2 separate regions of the Homo sapiens genome follow, and region 2 is linked to region 1. The links are contacts of gene promoters, found by promoter capture Hi-C in blood cells and fetal thymus (Javierre and others, 2016). All regions are on one chromosome and are shown on one strand. Each heading gives the region's core, a stretch centred on a gene start or on the middle of the fragment in contact. The rest is flanking DNA. Distances are from core to core; before and after follow the strand shown. Region 1 holds the start of LINC01949 (long intergenic non-protein coding RNA 1949). Region 2 has its middle 140 kb from the start of MIR4280.

Region 1 (3,239 bases), core at 456-2,955:
TGAACTGCTGAATGGGCTTTGGCCTCCTGTAACCTGAACTGGAGTAAGTGGGTTGGAAAATGAAAGAATAAATGAATACAAATTATTATAAGATAAAATATAAAGTATTTGATAATCATACAAATGCAAAATAATAAGAAATGTTGTATGAAAGTGCTTAGAGAGTCTGCCTTATTGAATATTGTTTGTTTTTGAACTGTGTGTTGGTAGGAGGTACTCCTGACAATTTTCACTTTACAAACATTTATTTCTTGATTTAACCTACCACCAGGATGACGGCTGTCACTCACTGATTCACCAAAAATTGGACAAATTGCTTACTTATTTTTGTTGATTTTTCTTAAATGTATGTATAGCTTACATTTATATCAATATTCAACATTAGAAGTGTTTCAAGTCTTCACTTAGAAATTTGTTGATGTTTTTGTGATACAAATATGCCATAGGAACTAATTCTTGTTTATATTAATTAGCCTATAGTAAAACTGGTTTTGTTACATGGCATCTCACTTGAAGTTGAAGTTTCCAAGACCCTATCAACAACGTTGAGAACTTACTGTCATAGGTTGAAAAACTGTACACCAGGAACCGGACCAAAATAGATCTGACAGTAATATTGATATTAGAAAACAACTTTAAGTCTAATAATGATTTTTCTCTAAAGAGGTTGATTACTTCATGATAGAAGGATCATGTCACCATGATGACACAGACTGTTAGTGCACATCAATATCCATTTTGTCCTCTTCTTTTTTGGCATACAACCAAAACTTACATAGGCTTTTTATCATTTTACTGGGCCTATGTAACTGAGTTTTAGCCAGTGGAATATGTCCAAGTGACATTTGCCACTTCTAGGTCTGGCACATTAACACTTGATGTATTACATTTCAGACCCTCTTATCATTCTGCAGTGTGTTTGGCGATCTGTTGTTTAAGATCTATATGCACTGGTTACTGTTGCTTGCCTTCCATTCCTACCCTTACTAATCAGATTCCTATTATAGCTACTTCTGTCCTTGATTCATTTTGTATATTAGATGTGTGTGTGTTCATGTGCATGCATGCACCCTCACATGTAGGTGTATATGGGAGTGGTGGTAAAGACAGGATATTTCTTCAGTTCATGGGATTTTATTTCAGGAGAATTCAAACATTCACGTATTGGAGAAGATGACACATTTCTTGAATGTCTTGGGCTTTGAGCTGAATGCACTAACTAGAAGGGACTTCAGATTGTCCTCCTTCGGGGGAGGTAAGTATATTCTTCATATACAGGTAAGAGTGAAATGATAGAAGAATGTTCCTCCTCTCCTTTTCTTCCTGGACAACAGATCAAATATTTCTCAGATCTTTTACAGCTGAATTGGAGTCACATGGACAGGTATGATCTTAAAATATAAAAAATTATTTTAAAATTACATGCTAAAATTTTATAAAAATAAATGCTAAAACTAACTTAAACGGAAGCATTTGATTAAAAAATTTATCCAAAAAAGTTTGAATTTTATATGAAACAGGATAGAAGATGAAAAAGCTAAAGAAATAAAATATAAATAAATTATGGCTGGGGACAGTGGCTCACACCTGTAATCCCAGCACTTTGGGAGGCTGAGGTGGGAGGACTGATTGAGGCTAGGAGTTTGAGACCTGTTATTTGAGGCACATGGGAAGGAAAGTTTTCTTTGAGATATTCCACATTTTATAATATTCTTCAAGAGATTTACAGAGTTCCTTGAGTGAATTGTTGGTTTGTTCTTAATACTGAATTTCCTATTCAAATTTATTTAGAAGTTCATTTCTTACAGTGATCTCATCTCCTATTAAGATATTCTTCAAGGTAGGTTCTTGGCCAGTTTCTCAATGACAGATTTTTAAAAATATTGTTAATCTTTTTATTAATATGAGAACATAATTGTTCCAGATCTGGAGGCCATCCTTTAAGCTTCTTGCAACAGTCTGGGAGCAAAGAGTTTACTCGCCACTGGGTAGTGGGCCATGGACACCCCAGTCTCCACCAGAAGTTCGGGATTGCAAAATGGGACTCTGGCAGCAAATTTCAAACTGTATGCCAGACCTGGCCCTTTGCAGGTGGGCATCACTAAAAATTTAAATTACCAAAATTGACTCAAGAGTAAATCTATGTCTGAGGAGAAAGCCTTTGGAAAAATTGAATTAGTAAGCAAAAACCTACCCAAAATAAATAACAGTAAGTCTAGAAAATTTTACACAGGGATTACCAACAAACATTCAAAGCACAGAAAAATCTCTTTAGCACAAAATGCTACAAAATACAGAAAAAGAGGAAAATTCTGTAGTTTCTCTCATGAAGTTAATATATTCTAGTTAGCTGAACTAGAAAAATAAGAGAAAGAAAAATTATAGGTTAATCTTCCTTATGAGTACATGCAAGTATCATAAGATGTTGACAAATTGAATCAAGCATTTTAAAAAATGCATTATGATCAAATATGATTTATCCTAGAAATAATGTATGAGAGTTATAAAATTCCCATTAACATTAGGAACAAGCATTAATACTTATTATCTCCACCAATAATCATCATTGCTCTGGAGTTCCTAACCAATGAAATAAGAAAGAAATAACCAGTTATATGGATTAGGGAAGATCAAATATTGATTATTTGAATATTTTTTTTTATAGAAAATCCAATAATTGTACAGCTGAAGAACTGGAATAGGAGAGTTAAGCAAAGTTTCTACATACAAGAGCAAAGTGGTCAAATCAATAGGTTATCTGTAGGCCAGTGCTAATTACATTGACATGGTGGCCTTAAAATTTTTACATGCAATTCATAAATCAGTTTCACTGATATTACTTTACCAGATATTGATATTCTAATGTTGTAATTATACAACTGTATTATTGTGTCAGAAATAAAATTAATAGACCAACAAAACAAAACTCAGAACAGATTCACATATTTGATAACTTGGTGTATGACAAGTGTGACATTAAAATTCAGGAGTAAAATAAAAAAATAACAAATAATGCCGGGATAATTGGTTAGTCACATGGGAAAAAGTCAGAAAGATCTCTGCCTCACTCTATTTACATGGAATATACTTCAGATGAAAGAAACTTAAATACAAAGAGCAAAACTTTAAGACTTTTAGAAAAAGATAGGAGAATTTATGACTTCCAGTAAGGAAAGCTTTCTTAAGCTAGATGCAATGGCATAAACGACAAAATGCATTTTTTTTATAACATTAAATAA
Region 2 (3,239 bases), core at 252-2,751, 260 kb after region 1:
AAGCCAGGTCAGTCTTCTGCTATGTATATCTTTGATGTGAAATTATCTTAGGAAAGGCTAAACGTTAGTCTTAGAAAAAAAATCCTCTCATCTATAATGAACTGAAGTAAACACCCTTGGTTTACTTCCCTGCAGTAAAGCACTTACATCTCTGGGGCTACAACCAGGAAGTCAACAGTCCACGTCCTTACTTCAAAAAGTATTTGATACTTATATGAGGGTAAGCAAAATGTCTGCCTCTTGGAAATCAACAAGTCCTCCAGTTTTTGGAGCTACCATTTATTCTAACATTTAAATAAAATGGCTCAAATTTCTTTTTATAAAATAGCACTACCTAGCTTCAATCCACTTCATTCTTTTGAGGGCTAACTTTCCCTAAAACATTTGAAAAAAAATCGAGGTTGCTTGAAGTTTGCTTCTTTACTGTCATCTCCAGCACTCATTGTCATGTCTCCTGCTGAACATCAGGCTTCTGTTTACTTTGTGGCTAGTCCCCCCAACTTTGGAACTTTGCTTCTCTTTCTCCATTCTCCAAAGTACCATTAATATTAATGACTGAAATTCTGGGCAAAACACATTTCTGTTGACAACTCACAAAAAATAGAACTTCCTTACAGCGAGAAAACAATTATCTGCCCTTCCTAAAACCATGTTCCTGAGAGTCATATCTCTCTAGACCAGAGTTGTTTAACAAAACTTTCCGCACTGTTCAATACAGTAGCCACTGGACACATGTGGCTATTGAGCACTTCACATGTGGTTAGCGAGGCTGAGGAACTAAATTTTAAATTTTATTTGAATGTAAATTTAGTCACGTGACTAGTGGCTATCATGTTGGAAAGCAAAGGTCTGTCCAACTGTCTGTGAAGATTGATTCCCTTTCTTTTTCCAGGGTTCTCACCCCATTTGCCAACTAACATTTTGTAGTTATTAGTAAATAATTAAAAAATTCCTGTTACTCTATTTCGCAAGAGAGATTTCAGTCAATTTCCCACACTAGGATTTATCTATCTAGATTATCATGGGAGCCCCCATTATCTTGTAAAATAAAAAAGTCTCTTGTGGCCCATCAAGATAATTTCCTAGAAACAAAGGACCATTTATCTCGGTAAATGCTTATACCAAGGATGACTTAAGTAGTTGCAAACCATATTATATTTTCAAAATCAATATTTTCATTAGGTTACACCTTTCCTTCAGCAAAATATTTTCTGTAGCTGGAAAAGAAAGTTGCCCATAAACTCTTTCCACAGGTCATGTTCTGGAAAAGATAAAAACATATCATCTAATATCTTATGGACACTCTTTCAGGCTACTCAATCCCTATGACATGCAAATCTAGTATGAGAAACTGTTTCAGGCGGAGCTCTCCAAAACTGGAAGAAATCACTTAAAAATTTGCGTAATTGGGGAATGAGAATGAACAGCTGTCTCTGAAGCATGAGGAAATGGGTGTGGTGAGAGTATCAACATTATTCTCTATCCTGAGGCTTCAGTCTCTGATTTATAGTCTTGAAAGACAGTGCTCATTGCCAAGGTTTTGTCTCTTTGAGAATGGTATGCTCCTGTTTCCATTAAAATAATATTTCTTCCCATTCCTGTTCCCTACGATGGGATCCAGAGAACAGTAAGTTGACCCTGTATCAACTCCCCTTTAAAGTCATGTACTGCCTGTGCTTGGCATGATACTCCACCTAGAAATTTGCCTGTTTCCCTAGCCCCTCTATAAAAGGAAAGAGAACTCTATAGTCAACCAAGCATATTTGCTCATAGGATCTAGAAAGCCCCATTCCTCTTGAAATTTTCTGCAATCTCACTTGTCGCCAGAACATTTCCAGAAAAGCCTTACTTTCCATATCATTGAGGATGGCTTTTTGGTGTGCTTAGTGCTTTAAAAGTTCCCATTCTCACAATCCTAGCTAAGGGGTGGCATTTCCATTTCATGGAATCATGGGTCATGACCCTGGAAATAACTACCATCCTGAGCTTTGCAATGCCTCTATGATAGCATTGCACTCCAATTCTTAGACAATAGTTAGAATTGCTTAGTTTCAGATAGCATTGATCTCCGCAATCATATGCCTTTCTTTAATTTGCTTCATATAGACAGAATGCAGTTTTTGACAAACTGGGTCAAATATATCCTATTTATGTTTATCTGTTCCAAATTGGTAGTAGAATGGTGATATTTATGGTCACTGGCCTACAGTCCTCTAACTAGAAGGAAAAATACTGCCTGCTCCTACTCCCTGAAGCCTTGAATAATAAAATCCTGAAACCAAATTTTGCTGACAACAACTTCTACTGCCCAGGTTTGAGCTGGTACTTCCTATACTAACTAGTTTTGTTACATTGAAGTGTTTTCTATTGGTTTCCAATTCTACCTTTCTTCTTCCTTATGAATTATTCTCATAATTGAGAGACCCTGTTTACTCTGAGATATCACAAATAACATTTTTACTATAAATAAATGTACTATTTATTTTTTCCAATTAAACCCAGTTTATTCTGGTTTAACAAGTACTGCTTTTTGAAATAACATCCCTAACTTAAATTGATTAATGTATTTTTGCCATAACAATTTATTGAGCATATAGTATGTGATGACATAGTTCTAGATGCTGGCTATATAGCAATGAGAAAAACCCACACAAATCCCTGCTCTTATGGAGTTTGTATTCTAGTTAAATAAGAAAGAAAATAAACAAACACATAAAATATGTAGTATGTCAGATGTTACAAGTTCAGTAAGAAAAGTGAACATGAGAAGGGGGATACTTGGGAGAATTGGTGGGGATAGTTACTATTTTAAATTAGATAGGCAGGGAGGAACTCACTTATAAGTTAACATTTAACCATAGACTTAAAGGAGACAAGGGAGTGAGCCATGTAGGGATCTAGGGAAGAGTGCTGCAGAAAGAAGGAAATAGCAACTGCAAAGCCCTGACACGTACAAGAGATAACAAGATGGTCAGTGTATCTGGAACCAAGCTAAGAGGGAGAGCCATAGAAACTGAAGCCAGTGAGGGTATGGAGCATGAGACTACACTGCCTTGTAGATACATGTGCTTTGCCTTTAATTCTGAATGAGACCAGACATCATAGGTAAGTATGGGACAGAAGAATGATTCATATAAACAAATATTTTTTTCTTTCTTCTTTGTCATGAATGCTTAAAAATTAAACATCAGAATTGTGACCACTCTAGAAATTTGTCAAGACTAGCTCCGGTGTAGTAT

What was found. Contacts are between HindIII fragments. The CHiCAGO score rates a contact against its expected background, and 5 or more counts as called.
Region 2: a contact is called between a fragment that was not itself captured here and the fragment with the promoter of LINC01949 in region 1, in 7 of 17 cell types (M2 macrophages, M1 macrophages, M0 macrophages and 4 more). The highest score is 26.6, in M2 macrophages.

Annotation. Positions count from the first base shown.
Region 1 is chr5:87,237,667-87,240,905 of GRCh38, reverse strand. It overlaps LINC01949 (long intergenic non-protein coding RNA 1949), which reads left to right and starts at 1,705. Exons shown (of 3, transcript NR_130914.1): 1 at 1,705-1,840; 2 at 1,925-2,091. The region is part of intron 2 of LOC101929380 (a long non-coding RNA gene); the gene reads right to left. The HindIII fragment of the contact is 4,009 bases long and covers 1-1,947 here.
Region 2 is chr5:86,975,584-86,978,822 of GRCh38, reverse strand. No RefSeq gene overlaps it. Among named protein-coding and RNA genes, the nearest start is that of MIR4280, 140 kb to the left of the region's middle. The HindIII fragment of the contact is 5,108 bases long and covers 1-3,239 here.